Linked DNA regions of Homo sapiens: regions 1, 2, 3, 4 and 5 are each linked to region 6. Evidence: promoter capture Hi-C in 16 types of primary human blood cells and fetal thymus (Javierre and others, 2016). All regions are on one chromosome and are shown on one strand. The core of a region is centred on a gene start or on the middle of the fragment in contact, and the rest is flanking DNA. Distances in the headings are between cores, read along the strand shown.

The links. Contacts are between HindIII fragments. The CHiCAGO score rates a contact against its expected background, and 5 or more counts as called.
Region 1: a contact is called between a fragment that was not itself captured here and the fragment with the promoter of BTF3 in region 6, in 1 of 17 cell types (erythroblasts). The highest score is 5.8, in erythroblasts.
Region 2: a contact is called between the fragment with the promoter of FCHO2 here and the fragment with the promoter of BTF3 in region 6, in 12 of 17 cell types (total B cells, total CD8 T cells, erythroblasts and 9 more). The highest score is 12.3, in total B cells.
Region 3: a fragment that was not itself captured here is called in contact with the fragment with the promoter of BTF3 in region 6 in 9 of 17 cell types (total B cells, total CD8 T cells, activated CD4 T cells and 6 more); the score reaches 9.7 in total B cells.
Region 4: a contact is called between a fragment that was not itself captured here and the fragment with the promoter of BTF3 in region 6, in 2 of 17 cell types (activated CD4 T cells and naive CD4 T cells). The highest score is 7.9, in activated CD4 T cells.
Region 5: a fragment that was not itself captured here is called in contact with the fragment with the promoter of BTF3 in region 6 in 5 of 17 cell types (activated CD4 T cells, total CD8 T cells, total CD4 T cells and 2 more); the score reaches 8.0 in activated CD4 T cells.

What each region holds. Positions count from the first base shown.
Region 1 is chr5:72,913,898-72,916,745 of GRCh38, reverse strand. TNPO1 (transportin 1) reads right to left here. Exons shown (of 25, transcript NM_002270.4): 25 at 2,358-2,848. Among named protein-coding and RNA genes, the nearest start is that of MIR4804, 37 kb to the right of the region's middle. The HindIII fragment of the contact is 2,384 bases long and covers 307-2,690 here.
Region 2 is chr5:72,954,578-72,957,347 of GRCh38, reverse strand. It overlaps FCHO2 (FCH and mu domain containing endocytic adaptor 2), which reads right to left and starts at 1,307. Exons shown (of 26, transcript NM_138782.3): 1 at 1,219-1,307. The coding sequence starts at 1,251. FCHO2-DT (FCHO2 divergent transcript) reads left to right here and starts at 1,464. Exons shown (of 2, transcript NR_186392.1): 1 at 1,464-2,334. RefSeq lists a silencer at 715-1,414. The HindIII fragment of the contact is 4,273 bases long and covers 1,216-2,770 here.
Region 3 is chr5:72,812,958-72,815,974 of GRCh38, reverse strand. The region is part of intron 1 of TNPO1-DT (TNPO1 divergent transcript); the gene reads left to right. Among named protein-coding and RNA genes, the nearest start is that of TNPO1-DT, 2.1 kb to the left of the region's middle. The HindIII fragment of the contact is 404 bases long and covers 1,528-1,931 here.
Region 4 is chr5:72,859,117-72,861,913 of GRCh38, reverse strand. It overlaps TNPO1 (transportin 1), which reads right to left. Exons shown (of 25, transcript NM_002270.4): 5 at 1-106. Among named protein-coding and RNA genes, the nearest start is that of MIR4804, 18 kb to the left of the region's middle. The HindIII fragment of the contact is 7,166 bases long and covers 1-2,797 here.
Region 5 is chr5:72,893,027-72,896,196 of GRCh38, reverse strand. TNPO1 (transportin 1) reads right to left here. Exons shown (of 25, transcript NM_002270.4): 16 at 2,951-3,058; 17 at 2,662-2,820; 18 at 2,494-2,581. Among named protein-coding and RNA genes, the nearest start is that of MIR4804, 16 kb to the right of the region's middle. The HindIII fragment of the contact is 917 bases long and covers 1,344-2,260 here.
Region 6 is chr5:73,497,021-73,500,035 of GRCh38, reverse strand. BTF3 (basic transcription factor 3) reads right to left here and starts at 1,594. Exons shown (of 6, transcript NM_001037637.2): 1 at 1,237-1,594; 2 at 834-902. The coding sequence starts at 1,368. BTF3-DT (BTF3 divergent transcript) reads left to right here and starts at 1,716. Exons shown (of 1, transcript NR_186388.1): 1 at 1,716-2,483. RefSeq lists a silencer at 1,110-1,159 and enhancers at 796-1,606, 1,370-1,669, 1,700-1,759. The HindIII fragment of the contact is 2,385 bases long and covers 39-2,423 here.

The sequences.
Region 1 (2,848 bases), core at 249-2,748, 580 kb after region 6:
AACATTTAAGCATTGCGACTCTCACTAAAACTTTATTTCTAAGAGTGAAAAATTAGAAAAAACTTCTGAATGTCCAACAACAGTAAGACAGTTGCATAAATTGCTTATAGAATAATATGTAGGTATGTCCATGTATATTAACAAACAATTCTGGATATAACTAAAAACACAAATTCACCATATATTTATATATGTGCACAGGATATTAACAGCAGTTATCACTAGGTAGTTGTATTACAATTCATTTAACTGTTCACTTGTCTTTCTTAAAATTGTTTCAAGTTCTTCAAGAAGTAACACAAAGCTTGAAAAGAATACTTAAGATTTAAATCATCAGAGTGAGACTGCCATAACATGCATGTAAGAATTGACTGGTACAAAAACCTAAAGGGTCTCAGTATAACAACTCTTCTCTGTATTGTTCTTGCCAATGGTTTAGAAATTGCGTTAAATTTACAAATTGTCGCCAGGGGCGGTGGCTCACAACTGTAATCCCAGCAATTTGGGAGGCAAAGGTGGGCGTACCACTCGAGGTGTTCACTCGAGGTCAGGAGTTCGAGACCAGCCTGGCCAACACGGCCAAACTCTCTCCTAAAAAAAAAAAAAAAAAAAAAAAAAAAAAAAAATTAGCCAGGCCTGGTGGCGTGCGCCTGTAATCCCAGCTACTTGGGAGGCTGAGATGGGAGAATTGCTTGAACCTAGGAGGCGGAAGTTGCAGGGAGCAGATATCGTGCCACTGAAGACTGGGAGACAGAGCCAGAGTCCTCTCAATTAAAAAAAATATATACTAATTGTGATGTGTACATTATTTGTGTCTATCTGAATAATGGAGATGTTTCGGGGGTTCTTACACTTTTACATCAAATTAACAACTCAGAAATAAAGAATTTTTAAAATGACAGAGCTTTGGTAATTCCATATTCAACTGTATAGAACACAAAGGAAATTCAAGTTAGCTCTGTAGTTCCTGCTGCCACTTTTCCAATCATTCTTAAAGAATCACGTGAAATTGTGGAGTCATACTGATTATGAACTCATTACAAGAATGCCCGCCAGTCCAAGAATTGTTAAGCCAGCCTTACTCATTTATCATTACGATGGTTTCATCACCTGAACTGAGAAGAAAAAGATCATTTGCATAAAATGGATAGGGCTTTAGTATCACTAAAATATTGACGACTTAGAAAAGACTTTTGGTTCCTAATCTTGAACAAGAATTAGGATGACTTTAATTATCTTTTCCCCACAACCTAAGTCCTAAAATTCTGGAATATTAAACTCTTGAGGCTGTGTTTTAGAACATGATGTCCAAGTTTCAATTTTATTTTCTTGTTAACACAAGAGAACTCTCTCTTCTCAAATATTTTCTTGGCCAGGTAACAAAGAAAAAGAAACCCAAGCCTCACCTCTCTTAAAAGTTTTGGAATTGTACTGATTTAATTTTAGGCTCTTTCCTGTTCTAAATCTCAAAAGGCTGTATGACAAGGCCAGGCATGGTGGCTCACAGCTGTAATCCCAACACTTTGAGAGGCCGAGACAGGTGGATCACCTGAGGCCAGGAGTTCGAGACTAGCCTGGCCAACATGGTGAACCCCCATCTTTACTGAAAATATAAAAGTTAGCCGGGTGTGACGGCACATGCCTTAATCCCAACTACTTGGGAAGCTGAGGCAGGAGAGTCGTTTGAACCCGGGAGGCAGAGGTTGCAGTGAGACAAGACTGTGCCACTGCACTCCAGCCTGGGCAACAGAGCAAGACTCCATCTCAAAAACAAGACAAAAAACAAAAAAAACCATGACAGTTATGCACACATACTCCCTGAAATGTGTTAATACATTTAATTAGTAACATGCAACTATATTAATGCCTTACAACCTGAAGAAAAAATTACTCTTATAAATGTTAATTCCCCAAATTACAAATCTTAACTGTTTGAAGGATAAAGAGGAAGCCTTAATAGGACATACATTCATACACACTCATGCAATCTCTCCTTACATCAACTTTTTATATTCACAATTTCGCCTTTAATTCCTTTTACAGAATAGTATGTCCCCTATCCTCAAACAGCAGAACCTATAATCAACTGTTTAAAACACATCAAGGAGTTAAGTTAAAATGTGGAAAAACAGGTTTTTACTATACTATACAAATAAGAAAACACTTGTTTTAAGAAATAAATGATGTTCAACAACAAAAGTGTACTAATGTGTAAGCTAAGGAAAAAACAAAACAAAACCTCAAACTAAAAACAAGGAAAAAAATCCCAAAAAACATAAGGCTTATCTAGATCCAAAATGGGGTAAGAGGGAAAAAGAAAACTCATTTCCTTTCATTAAAAATCAGAGTGCAACATCTATAGTTAAACAACTTTATTAACATAGTCAAGCAGTGATTAACATTCACATCTATTATGTCACATCATACAAATGTAAATACAAAATTACTACAGTACAATATATATTCTCTGCATGATCCAAAATATTTGGTGGCCCCAAAAAACTCTCTTTAAAATTCAGCAGCTTATCAAAAATTAAAACCGTATTCTATTTAAAATGGAGATCTGTTAGCACAGAGTTAGACTTCAAGAAATATCAATTTAGTACAGTTTGAGAAGTTGCAGGAGGATATGTTTGAAGGACACATTCTAACATAGTGTGGCAGGTACAGGAAACATCAGATTTAAAGCTTTTAAGCATAACTCATACAACCTAAGTTGTCAGCAGAAAGATCCAGTTATATTTGTAACTAAAGCTAATGCTACTAAATTATTGCACCCAATGTTAACATATTAAGTGTAAAACTGTTTTGTAATATGAAGTGATTTACCACGTTTAAACATCTCTTC
Region 2 (2,770 bases), core at 58-2,557, 540 kb after region 6:
TCTGGGATAACGAAATTGTTGTAAAACTGATATGGTGATGTTTACACAACTCTATGAACATATGAAAAAACCTCTGAATTGTACTACACTTTAAATGAGTGTATTGGTACGGAAATGTGAACTCAATAAAGCTGTTTAAAAAACAAAACACCTAAGGTCTAGTATATACGTTCTTTGTGGAAAACAAGGTACATTCAAGACAAATAAATAACTATGAACTGATCTGATTACTAACCAAGACCATGCTTGAGGCACTTAGAATTAAGAATTTAACATACATTCCTTACTAGCTAAAAGATTACCCCTTTAAATATGTCTAAATCTCAACGAAAATGGACCTGCAGTACTTGCAACTGTCAGGGCATAAAATGGGATTCACGAAAGATACCTGAGTAAACACGTTCCTTTCCTGTACATGGCTGAACTGTACTTCCCATTACAAAAAAAAAAACAATAACTGCAGAAAAATACTCCACCGGGAGCCGGAGAAATTCTCAAAGAAGAATCTAATACTGAGCTAAGACAAGGGGTGGAAAGAATGAGGAAGGGGAAGGAGCACAGAGTAGGGGGAGGTCTCCATGCATTTAAGCCCAAGGAGTCCAGTTACATTAAATCCAACTTTTAAACGCTTTGTGAACAGGCCCAGAGGCAAAGTCCTGGGCGCAAACCCACGAGCCGAGCTGCGAGGCTGAGAGGAAGTGCTAGTCCAGCCCAACCCCGCACTGGATTTGGTGTGGAAACCGTCAGAGGTAAAAGGGATCGCTCAGATGGGGGGCCCGCGGTGAGGGCAGGAGGCAAAACCCCACCGCCCGGCGCTCCCAGCCAGCGCGCAGCGGGAGGCGGCTGTGCCGCGGGCCCGTCCTTCGCGTCCGAGCTGCCGCGCACGCCCCGCGCGGAGCGCGGCACCGGGAGCCTCCGGTGGGGCTGGGTCCCGTCTCCCGCCCCATCCGGCGCTTTGTCCCAGCCCCGGTGGCCGGCGGCCCCGCTGCGGGCCCCCGGGCCGCGGTGACAGCCCCCGTCCCCATAGGGCTGCGAGCCCGGGAGTCCCTATAGGCTGGCGACCGGTCGCCCGCCGGACCTCACCCAGGCGGGACGCGGCAGGAGGACGCTCGCCCTGCCGGAGGGGCCGCCGCCGCCGCCCGAAGCGCACGCAGGCCAAGCTCAGGCGCCAAAAGCCTTGGACTTCGAAACACACGACTTCCAACATCCTAAGCTTACCCAAAAATTCTCGACGAAATACGCCATGACCATCGTGCCGCCGCCGCGCCGGGTTCCGCGTCCGCGCCCGCCCGCCGCTGTGTAAACACGGCCCGGCCCCCACAGCACCCCCGCCTTTCGCCGCCGCCGCCTTCTTCCCAGAGACCGGCCCGCACCTTCCAGGGCGCATGCGCCACCTAGCGGCTGCCGCAGCTGGGCGAGCACTTAGACGCCACGGCCACGGTGTGCGCATGCGCCCTGTCCCCATTCTCGGGTGTTGGTAGATCTCTCTGCATCCCGGGCGCGGCTGGGTTGAGTGTTCTCTTAGGAATGGTGGAGAACTGGGTCCTTGAGGAGTCACCGGGGAGACTGCTCGCACTGTTTGTGGTGCGACGGGCACTGGCCCAGGGACAGAGGGAAGAGAAGGGCCAGCCAGCGGCAGTGGAGTCGGCAGGCTGGCTGCCCACTCGCTTTCTCTCCTCACAAGACTCGCTTCCCCGGCCTTCGAGGATCTCGAACGGACTATAGTCTGGACTCGCTGGGCTGGAGGAAACTTGGCCGCTGGCCACCCGGAGGAGACTGAGAAGCCTTTGGTCAACAGGGCGCCTTTCCTTGAACCAAAACAAAACTTTCCGAAGCCGGAAAGGAAACGCCCAGTGTCGCCTGAGAGCCCTGGAGCTGCGCGAGACCCAGGCACTGAGTGCGGCCTCGGCCTCTGACCTCTAACACGCCGGGAACAAACCAGCTGGGGCGGCCCGCAGGCCTGCGGGAGCGGAATGTGACCCGAAACCGACGGACTTCCTGACCCATAGTCCATAGTTCTCTTCAGCAACTTGAACATTTTGGAAAAAGAAACAAGTCTTAACATGCCACGACCTAATGGAAAAACTAAATCCCCTTCCTACACCTTGCTTTCCAAAAGTTAAAAAAAAATAGTTAAACGCTATTAGAGGTCTCAAGTTCACTGTCACCAGATCAGCTAGGTCCAGAATCTTCAGTTCTTGAAGCCAAGCCCTACAAATAGATTTATTGTAGCATATCACACCTCTTCAGGTGACTTAAAACAATGAGAATTCATGAGAAATTATCTTCATCCTCAAGTAAAAATCATGAGGTGCCTTTCACATGGATGAAATTGTAAGTGCTTGTTGAACAAGGAATAATTGGATAATGGTATTGTGGTCATACTTTTTAAGAATATCTGTTAGAAAGATATAGGATGCAGAACATCTAGGATTTGCTGAAAGTCATTTATTATGGATAGGGGTATGAGTAAGGTCATAGATGAAAAGGGATGAAACAAGATTGGCCATAGTTGCTCTATTTTTGTGTATCTTGTTTCTTTATTTTGTTTCTTTAAAAAGTCCTCATATCACTGACATTTACACTTAGTTTTAGGGAAAGTCAAATTTAGAAATAAGCTACAGCTCTCTAAGCTATCGGTCTAACTGGATTTTTCTCGATGCTGAAGAACTTTTTAAAAAATTCAGCCATCTAGGTCACACAGCAAATACATTTGGCATTAAATTCCTAGTATCACTAAAGTACTCCCTCCCACCGCCGCGCCCCCCCC
Region 3 (3,017 bases), core at 480-2,979, 680 kb after region 6:
CTCTCCCTAACCTGCCATCATGAGAAATTAAAATGTCCTGTATTTTCTGTACGGCAAATGATTCAAAATGGGAGTGGTGGACGTTTTTATACCCAACTGCAACAAGGGTAATGAGATAAATATCAGTTTCCTTCCCTCAGATTATTCTTATATGTAAAATTTACTGTATAAAAATACTTAAAATTTGCATAGCTAGCTGATTTTTATTTTCTAAGGTGATGATGCCCGTGATAATATTCCTCACATGATCAGTGTGAGTAGAAATACCAGCAGTTCCGACTATCTTACTGGAAGTGCTGTATATATTTTGAAAATGTGTGACAGTTGTTGCCTTCCTGTCATAGTTTAGGTAAAATTACAGTACATAATACTAGAAAATGTCTAAATTTTTACTAAGGTAATTTATTTGTTCTTCTAAACGTGTTAACAATTTTCATTTGAATTACAGTCATTTTGCAGGAACAACTAGTTTATTTAACTTAAAATTTGAGACTAAAAGTACCATTTTTTAATCATTGGGAAATTGAACTTAGCAAGGGAAAATATAGATAACTAAAATATTCATGATTTCAACATGTTATAATATTAATTTGATAGTAATTGGATACAGTAGTGTATATCAAAAAGAGCCCCCCCCCCCAAATAGGAGTAGATTACCAAGAAAAAAATGTAATATAAACTTTTCTGAATGGTAGTTTATCTGCAGGAAAATATACCCAGAAAAAGTATATTTATCCAAATAACAAATGGCTTATTTCTGCATTTGAAAAGTTACATCGTGGACTAGGATCTATACAAATCAGAAGATGTGTAGTATTTGCATTCTACTTTGCTAAAGGAAAAAACACAAATATTTCTAAAATCCAAAAGATTAGCAAATAATGACAGATGTAAATACTACTGACTAAGCAATTAGTAGGAGTTCACTTGATTAATAGTTTGGAAATAGCTGAAATGAATTGAAGAAAAAGTAACATATTATTTAGCATAAGAGGATTTATTGGCCAAAACATTTTGAAAGAAAAAAATGTTGATTATCAGATGTTGTAAAATTGAGATTAAGCAAATTAAATATGTATTCTTTTGTAAAAATTAAAGTGAATGAAAATACTAATATAAAATAGTTCTGTTGAATAGAGATTCTTACACATGTAGCCTTTTTGTCTCTTCTAGGTCAAATTAAAAAAACATGTTTTAAACAGTAAATCTTATTAACAAGGATTTATTAACATGGCTTATTTTATTTTTCTTTGACAGTTTGCACATATAATAGCAGCTATCCAGTAGTATTTTCTCTTTATACCTAAATATGCTCATGTGGTAAAACTTTGAAGAATTATTAATAATTTTTAAATGACAAAAATGAAGTTAAAATTTATAAACTTTGTTTTTACCTTTAAAACATAGATATATTTAAAATTTCTGTATTAATTTTATTTTCTTAGGTGAAAAATTTACCAAGATAAAAATAAAAACATGTTAGAAGTTACAAAATAGCATCTGAGGGAGAAAACATACCTATAAGCTTTCACCTAGGAATGACAAGATGCTTATTTTGTCAGGTGTAGCATTGTTAAAACAAGTGTGGAGCTTGCAGGCAGAGGACCTATATGCAGATGCTGGCTTTACCATTTATGAATGCTTTTGGCTCAGTCTTTCTGAGCTTCACTTTCTTTTGTCTGAAACAAGATTAAGTAAGATAAGTTACATAAAGAACTCATTAGCAGAGTGCAGGGCAGGTTGTTAGAGGGCAATGAATGAAAGTATTACTAGACATTAATATAAATCAAAGATGTTTGAGAAGGAGGAATATTATTGAAAAAGTAAGTCTGGAAATTCAAAAATTGTTAAATAAATGTCTTTAATAGGCAATTGTTGGTGAGTATATGGAAACCTAGTAAGATAAGTAATTTTTTATATACAGGCAAGCTTCTAAAATAGAATAAGCCTGGGCGCAGTGGCTCACGCCTGTAATCCCAGCACTTTGGGAGGCCGAGATGGGCGGATTACCTGAGGTCAGGAGTTTGAGGCCAGCCTGGCCAACATGGTGAAACCTCGTCTCTACTAAAAATACAAAAATTAGCTGGGCATGGTGGCGGGCACCTGTAATTCTAGCTACTCAGCAGGCTGAGGCAGGAGAATTGCTTGAACCTGGGAGGCAGAGGTTGCGGTGAGCCAAGATCAGGCCATTCATTTGCACTCCAGCCTGGGTGACAGAGGAAGACTTCGTCTCAAAAATAAATGAAAAAATAAAAATAAACAAATAAAATAGAATAGGATCTTCTAAAATATTGTCACCATTTATACTTCTGGAAGACAATTATTTCACATTAGGTAGTTTAAAGAATTGCCTTACACTGAAACATCTTCAGGTTGACATTATGAAAAAAAGTTTCAGTAATTATTTGGAAGAATTTAATTAAAATATTGAAGAGGACAATTGTAGTCAATATTCAGAAATGTGTAAATAATCTACAGGCATTTCTCATTTAAAGTAAACCCAATATATAAAGTTTGAATTCTTAAAAATATAAATTAGGGAGTTATTAACTGGGAAAAATTAACTTCAAATCTCCTTTAAGTATTAATATGTCCTAGTGATTATAATATGATTCTGCTTATAAAAAGGTCTACTTAGATTTCCACTTTTGGGAAGTTGGAATAGATATGCTTGTCCCTATTCCTCCCACTAAGTATAATTAAAACTTCTGAACATTATGTATAAAACAAACATAAAGGTCTCCAAATGGTGGAAAGAAGACAGATCAACTAGAGACCTTGGAACCCAAGGAACAACATGATGGTTAATTGCCTGTGTTTTCTTTTTGCTTTAGAGTCTTTAGAGACTTGAAACTTTACACATCAGCAACCTAGAAACACCAATGGCACAGACTAAAAAGGCCCCATCAAAACACTGCTCCAGCTGAAGGGCCAGAAAAGGAGTATGGCAGACAGAAAACTTTTTGACAATAATTGCATACTCTAGGCAAAACTACAGACAGAATTGTGACCCCATC
Region 4 (2,797 bases), core at 118-2,617, 640 kb after region 6:
TCACAGGTATTATAATCTTCAGAATCCAACAGGCTACAGAGTTTTGGTAAGAGGTCAGGCCAATTCTGCAATTCTCCCTTGGAGGCTATAGTTGTGATCAAAATACCTTGAACAAAAACACACTTCTTTAGGAAATCCAACAGCATTATGTCAGGCATTGCCATGTGAGCAACTGTGTGCACAAACACATTTTATGTAAATAATAACATTTGGCCAGGCATGGTGGCTCATGCTGTAATCCCAGCATTCTGGGAGGCCGAGGCGGGCAGATCTCTTGAGCCCAGGAATTCCAGACCAGCCTGGGCAACATGATGAAACCCTCTCACTACTAAAAATACAAGAAAATCAGCTGGGCGTGATGGTATGCGCCTGTGATCCCAGCTATTCAGGAGGCTGAAGTGAGAGGATCACCTGAGTCAAGGAGGTCGAGGCTGCAGTGAGCCATGACTATGAGACCACACTCATGCCTGGGCAGAGTGAGACCCTGTCTCAAAAAATTAGTAACACTCACCACCAACACCCATATCACCATTCCGTACCTTGTGGAAAAAAAACCTCACATAAACCAGATCTGTTTCTAATAGTGTTTTTCAACATTTCACCCTCTAAGGTTTTTTGAGTTAAATTTACCAAGTATAAGAATGCAACTTCTTTTTCTGCCATAATACCAAGAATAGCTCCACCAATTAAAATTAATTCTAATGGCTGGGCACGGTGGCTCACACCTGTAATCCCAGCACTTTGGGAGGCCGAGGTGGGTGGATCACATGAGGTTGGGAGTTCAAGACCAGCCTGACCAACATGGAGAAACCCCATCTCTACTAAAAATACATAACTAGCCGGGCATGTGGTGCATGCCTGTAATCTCAGCTACTCAGGAGGCTGAGGCAGGAGAATCGCTTGAACCCGGGAGGCGGAGGTTGCAGTGAGCCGAGATCACGCCACTGCACTCCAGTCTGGGCAACAAGAACGAAATTCTGTCTCAAAAAAAAAAAAAAATTCTAATTTATCCATACAAAAGAGTAGAAAGAAAATATGCCAAAACGTTAGCAGCACTTAACACTGGGTGATAAACTTATGAGTCTGTTAGGTTCAAATAAAAGACACATTAAGAAGCTAAAAATAGCTCCCTGACTTAATCTGGAACCAGAGCCAAGGACCATGGTAGGAAAAACTTAAGCAGATGAGTATCACTTGAGAATAATCCTGTATGTTTCACTGCTTACAACACTCTCCCTCATGTAGGCAGGCTACATACTCCTACAACAGTTCCCACTTACTGGATCAAGAATGAGTCGCCAGAAAGGCGATCTTCGAGGCTGGGTGGCCCATGCTCACTGATCATGTTGTTCTGACTGAATGGATTATCTCAACTGTGTTATGCAGTAGAGTTGTGATAGTCAATGAATTATGCAAATACACACAAATGTAAGGAAAGTTTTGTGTTAACACAAACACAAGGACAACAGAAAGGTTTCGTGTTAATATTTTTTTCTGCCTTAGTAAACATATTAGTGATATAATATGCTTAGTGATTATGGATCTTTTAGTGCCAGAAGAGTATAAGCTCTGACAATAGGCAAATTATATGCATTCTAAGCTGCAAAATATGAGTGTACAAAAATGAAAAAAGAAAACTCTTCATAGGGTTATTTTGAAAATTCAATTGGATATATAGAAAATGCCTGGCATCTAGTAAACACTCAATGACTATCACTGAACAGCAAATATCACCATGTGTATAAATTTTCTACCTTTAGTTCTGAGAAGGTTGCTCTCAATGATAAAGAACTAAAAAAGAATCTAGAAAGTAAAGCTCCCGGCAAATTTATTCTCCACACACAAAAAAATTAAATTGTATAGTAAGAATTAATGTACTGATAGCATTTTCAAGATATAGCCCTTACAATAAAATAGCCTTCCATTAAGATCCAAAAGCAGCAAGATCTGATCGTTCCTGCAAATTAGTCTTTCCTAAAGTTAAAATATAAAAGAAATAAGGGAATGAGCAAGATCTGGATCTGTCTAAAAGAAACCAAGCATAACTTAATATTTCTCAGTATTTATAACAAATACGGGAATGAAATCAGTGTGCTTGGCAACACCTATTAAAATCTTAAAAATGTTTAAACACACTTTGACCCAATAATGCCAAATACACAAATTAATCCTATAGAAATCTTCCTGTAATTGTACAAACATACACAAGAGAATATTCATTGAAATAATAAAATTACAAACAAACTGTATACTCTCTAAACAAGAGAAACATCTTTACTTCATCTGATGAATTACCCCACAGTCATTCAGATGTGGTCCCTTCCAAATAGACTTCCTTGATAAGATTCCCAACATGTATTGTTAAGGTTAATAAAAATTTTAAAAGCCAAAGCTGCTAGTCTATTTTTATAATCAGTAATCTTTTAATTAAAATATTTAAATATTGTATATATTATTAGTAGATGCTAAGAAATACAAAAATAACACATGGTCCTTTCCCTCAAGGAGCTCAGTCAGGCACTCCCTGACCCCAACACGTGGCATGGTCTAGAGACATTTTTGGTTGCTACAGCAGGGTATGTGGCTGCTGCTGGTATCCAGTGGGTAGAGGTCAGGTGTGCTGATTAACATCCTGTAGTGCACAGACAAAATAGCCCAACAACAAAGAATTATCCAGTCCAAAATGTCAAGTGCTGAGGTTGGAAAACTCTGGTCTAGAGGAACAGAGTCCTACATCAACTGATAATGTAGAGTCAGAGTACTTGCACTACTATACATATACCAAGAATTTTCTGTG
Region 5 (3,170 bases), core at 553-3,052, 600 kb after region 6:
GGAACAGGAAATACAAGTTTGGGTATATTTTACATACCACTAAAAAGAGTTGGTCAGAGTAATCTCTTGTAATTAGACTAAAAAAAAAAAATCAATGATTTTGGCTTTTAAAGCAATTTTCACTCTTGTGCTCTGATTGTGGTCTCTGAATAACATTTTCCACTAAAAAAAAATGGACTCTCAGAAAACGTCACATTACAGGCAAAGGCAGGAAATGTGCAAAATAAGTGGACTATCTTGTCATAATGAAAGGACTCGGGAGCCAACTTAAGTTCTCACTGCAAGCAGTACAACAGCTTGAACATCATGAAGTCACACTAGCACTAAAAACAATCAAACAAAAACAAAACTCTGAAACATCAAAGATACCTTTGGAGGATGATAGGAATCAATTCATTATTTTGAAAATTGGTAAATAAAAAAAAGAATCAAGTATTTATCTTGCCTCTGCTATATGATTTTACCTCAGGATAGTAATTTATTGATATGGGAAATGTCTCCCTATATAAGTATCTTCATTATTAAATGAAGAATTAGAATATCATAATTTTTTAAACTCCTAATAAATCAGGAGATGTAAGCCAGGGTTTCTTGATCTCAGCAATATTGACAGTTTGGGCCAGATCATTTTTTTGTTGGGGGGAAGGGGAGCTGTCTCCTGTATTATAAGATGTTTAGCAACATCCTTTGCTTCTACCCACTAGACATCAATGGCACCTCTCCAGCATCAAACAAAATGTCTCCAGACACTGGCAAATGTTCCCCGAATGGCAAAATTGCCCCTAGTTGAGAACCACTAATTGAGACAATCATCAAGATTGGTAACATTAAAAAAAAAAAAAGGAGGGACAACTAGACACTATGTACACTAAGTACACAATACCATCTATAAAGTCTTAAAAACAAAACAACGTAAATCTCATTAAACCTCAGTCTCTGTATCCAAACAATTTACAGTAAATACAACGGACAGAGGAACATGTTAAAGACAACAAAGATGCAATCAGTAAAATCCACAGTAAAGGAAACTCTTTAGAATAAAAAACATGGTTTCTTTAACAAAAAACAATTGTAAGAAGAGATAGTATAGTATGTACTAAAATATTAAGACTTCAAATGCTGTGTTTGAGATTTGCTCCAAAATATCTGAGATCTATGTGTCTCACCACTGACAACAGTATATAGGAAACAGGACTGGACAGTTGAAGCTGGGTGATAGGAGGTTTGTTACATTTTTTCTACTTTTGTACGTCTTAAACACTTTATAATAAAAAAATTAAATCCTTTCATATAAGTTTCAACTAAAAAACTAAATTAGGTGGTAAATATGAGAATGATAAGCTTCCCATAAGAATTCATTACACTGTTAGGTTTAAACTTGATGGTTCTTAATATATCATAATTAATGTTAATTATGTTAGTTTTTTGAGAAATGGTTATCCAAAAGCACAATTATATCAGATGACAAAACATTCAATTAATATTTTAAATTAAGGTTTAAATGAAGTATTAAAATAATTTTTTTTGAGACGGAGTCTTGCTCTGTTGCCCAGGCTGGAGTGTAGTGGTACAGTATCAGCTCACTGCAGACTCTGCCTCCCGGGTTCAAGCGATTTTCCTGCCTCAGTTTCCCAAGTAGCTAGAACTACAGGCACAAGCCACCACGCCTGGCTAAGTTTTTGTATTTTTAGTAGAAGCGGGGTTTCACCGTGTTAGCCAGGATGGTCTTGATCTCCTGACTTCGTGACCTGCCCGCCTTGGCCTTCCAAAGTGCTGGCATTACAGGTCTGAGCCGCCGTGCCCGGCTGTATTAAAATAATTGTTACCCAACATGCTGAGATGCAGAAAAGGGGGAAAAAAATCCCATAACTCATTTATAACCCATAGGTTTAAGAACAATTCCGGGTACAACATTCAAGGAATTTCTTATCATTGTCACAGAAGGCCAAGACAAATGCTATGCTAGTCTCGAATCTCGCACTCCTGACCTCAAGTGATCTGCCTGCCTTGGCTTCCCAAAGTGCTGGCATTACAGGTGTGAGCCCCCAGGCCCAGTCTCAGTTAAAGTGACATTTGTTGGAAGTTTTCTGCAATATCTGAAAAAGTATGCTGGTTTGCTAGAGAAGAAAACCTGATTATTACTATTTCTGTGTACCTCTACCAAAAAGGTGGCTACTCAAAAAAGAATCTATTAACTAGTCCATGGTACCAAGGCTTCCCTGGTGGGCATGTCCTTTACTCTAAAGTATATTACTAAGCTTTCCTCCAGTCACAGGAGTACCTAAAAAGCTGAGATGATGGCAAGCTCAAGGAAATATTAGGGGTTCCTGCCATCTTGCCTGTTTCAATCACAGCAAGTTTACTTTAACCAATAAAGTGTACATTTATAAATGTTGGGATTCCATGCAATTTCAGTTTAATAATAAAAAAACAAAGCTGATGTAAATGTTAACTTTAAAAAACCATATTCATAGCAGTAGAAAATATTCATACCTATACAAGGCTTAACATGCTGAAAGCAAGCTTTTGTGAGGTCACCTAACAGGGCAAAAGAACTCTGTCGAACTTCTGGCATTTTATCCTACAAGAAATAAGAAGAAATTAACCCCAATGTGACACAGAGAAACAGGCTTCAATTCATTTTCACCTTTCAAGTCTCACCTGCATGCACTGATACATTAGTGTCAGGATGTTACTTCGGGCTACCAGCTGTTCAATGTTGCCTCCAAGTCCTTCAGCCAGGCCACTCAGTAAATCAAGAGCCACTATCATAAAATCTTTATCTGGAGCTTCATATTGATCTGGTTGAGCATTGTTTAGCTGAAATTAGACACAATGTTTTTTGTAAGTTTGGTTTTAATTAACTACTTAAAAAGTCTGTATACATTATACCTATCTTTAGAAAAATGTCCACCATGTCAAGAAGAGGAAGACATTTTAAAAAAATTACCATGGCTTGTGCAAGAGTCTTCTGTACTAGGTTTACACAACGCTGATACACAGGTTCACAGTACGGAAGGAATCCAGACTGCAGTGCTGTGGCAACTGAAGATAGGCACTAGGAAGAATAAAGTACACATGCTAAACTTTCTGGGTATACTGAAGATTATGATGAATGCTTGAAACTGCGCTCAACAGGATCCTGATCATTTATGAGCTTGCTCTACTAG
Region 6 (3,015 bases), core at 345-2,844:
GAAAAACTAAAAGGTAATAAACATGTACCATGGAAGCTTTACAAGTTTTACCAAGTAAAGACATGCTCTGTTTCAACAAGCTACCACACCTTGTTAAATACTAAGAATGTGCTAACAATACAAACTAGGTAGACCTCTGTCTACAGTGGACTTCTTATTAATTACAGGACAATCTAAAAATCAGCTTCAAAAAAGAATCCCCTTGATGTGAATCAGTATCCACCAGGAAAAAAACAATTAATCAAAAACTGATCATTTAAAAATCAGTCACTTTAATTCCCTCATTTTTACAGTAATACAAAGTCAGAACAGGAAAGATACCTACTTGGGTTATATTTTCAAATCTAATAGTCACTGCTCTTAAACTCCAAAATGTACCCGTATCTTCAAATACCCTTGAAATATGCAACTACCCTAAAGAATATTTAGTTCAGAAAGCAGTACAGAAAGGTCTCAATTTACAAGAGAGACAAACAAGCACTGACTTTAGAAAACTCAGGCCAAAACAAGTCAAGGGTATGATGTGCACAACGATCTAACTGAAATGACACATTTTCCTTACTAATTAAATTAGGAAACACTTTTGTGTTCTACTTACACTCTGTAACACTGAAAACACAAACATGTTTACACAAAGGCGATGTTTTTAGCTCGTCTCACTGATGTGTCTCCAACCCTCGTCTCCCCCGCTCCTCGAGATTTGCTAGCTCCGTGAATTTCCCTCGATAGGCAAAGTTTGTCACCGATAATATAAGAAGCGCAAAAGGAATATGTTTTTTAAAATACCTAAACCTTAAAAAAAAAACCCACAAACCCGAACTATTAAAACTTACTTTCCCACCAATGCGCACTTGTGCCTGCAGTTTGGCGAGTTTTTCCTGGTTCATGATTGTTTCTTTCATCTAGAAAAAGAGGAAATCCTCAGCAAGGATAGGTTTAGCTCACTCTAGCATTCCATGCTCGTTATTTCCCAAGATACCAGCAGGAAAATAAACGTCCTACACAGGCCGAAACCTGGATCCCAAATCCACCCCGCAAAGCTCCAAATTTGGGTTTCCAGGGAGCCCAAAGAGCACCCGCCTCCCCACCACTCCCCCACAGCTCCCCGCTCTTGGCAGGCCCGGATGAAAGGCTCTACCCCACGCCTGGCCAGCACCCCCCACCCCTGGCCCTGGCCTGGCCTCGGCCTAGCCAGGGCCTGCCCGGCCCGGCCACTCTCCGCAAGCCTCGCGGTACCTGAGGCTCCTGTCCTCGGGTTCCGCCGCGAGGTGGAGGTTGAGACAGCGTCGCCTCGCCCCCAGGGCAGCCGCCCCTGGCTCGACCTCGCCCCCGAGAGTCAGCCTGAGCGGGTGCGCCTGTCCGTCGCATCGCCTTCCTCTCCTCCTCTGCCCTGTCCCTCCCTGTCTCGCTCCTTCAGGGAACTTCCCGCCCCCGCTCCCGTCCTCCTACCACGCCGCCGTCCAGAGCCTTTTTGTACCTTGTCGGAGCGAATAAGGGGCCGCGCGGGGGACTAGGGTTGGTGCTCAAGGGGTCTCGGGTGGACCACCTGAGATTAGGCGCACACACGCGGGGACGCAAGATGGCAGCTAAAGGGAGGCCGGAAGTGACACAAGGCCACTTCCTTCAAGAGTCAGGAAACTGACTTCGCCGCGAACTCGGTTCCTCCCTGCGCACGCGCGACAGCGTTTGTGATGGTCCAGCGAGTCCCTATTCTCCTCCTCCTGCTCCAGCGGCTGCCGGCTGTAGGCCCTACGAGAGACTGCTGGCTTGGGGCGCAGCCCGTACCTCTGGGAGAGGCCACAAAGGGGTCGGAGAGCGCGGTCCTGTGCACAGTTAGGGTTAAGTCCGCTCAGTCTCCATTGGGCCCTGATCCTGAAGTTCTGTGCCCTCCGAAGAAAGGGCCTATTCACGTTTCCTGGAGACGCCGGAGGTGCCCAGCTTGTGCTCACCACTCAAGCAGCTCTCCCCTTGCTGGAGGTGTGGGTTGGAGAATTGCAGAATTTCCCTCTCGGCCCGAATGAGCCATTACCAAAGCATTTTGTCAAAAATAGTGAAGTTAGTTTGGCCTTCCAAGGTTAGGTGGTGTGGTAGATTGCGGGACCGAGGTTCAGAATTTCTGGGGGCTGTATCCCCGAGCCCCACTCCTCAGAATGCAACTCTGTACGACGAAGGAACTGGGTAATCCGCATTTCAGCCAATTTAGCAGATGACTAACCACCTTAAAACGGTCCACACAATTATCTTGTTTATCAGGCAAAAAAATTGACTCCTAGGTACCGAATTGGCATGGATTTGACAATTAGCGATTCACGGTTAAGCAGACTTTATCTATCTTAATCCAATCAAAGGAGAATTTCTGCCTGCTGTGTTTGGAGAGACAACGCGTGGATGTGAGTTAAACTTTGTTAAACCCAGGACAAGCTTTAAGATAAAACGACTGATATTTAAAATGGCAATTTAAATAAAAATGTTCTCTGATCAGCCTTTTTGTGGTCTTAACCATGAAATGTCTTTGCATATTCAAAAGTGAGTCCGAAATCTTAGAATGCAATGTGTGTAGCAAGAAAACTTGTTCAAGTGCAGACCCCTCTCCAGTTAAGATCAATGTTTAAACTTTTTGAATACTTTTTACATATAAGTTTGTTGCAACTGATGTCTCAAGAACATAACTGGTGAGGACAGCTGTATTGCCTTTTAGAATAATTGTTACAGTTATATTTACAAAAAACAATGTTGCTTCAGTTAAATATGAGTGAAGTTTTAGTACAGGTAAGGGTGTTTGTAGTTAGGCTTATGTGGGTTACCTTCCTAATGACAAAGGCCAAAATGGCAGTACCAACATTATGCTGTGCTCTGGAGATATTACAAAATATATAGAAAGACTCCCCCTTTTGGAAGAAATGTGTATCTTTGTCCAGGAACAGTTTTTTTCCTCTCCTCCATGTTATATTGGAGGCATTTGAAACTTCCTAGTCACGTGATGTTTTCTGAGCTTTTATAGAGACAAGATTGTAT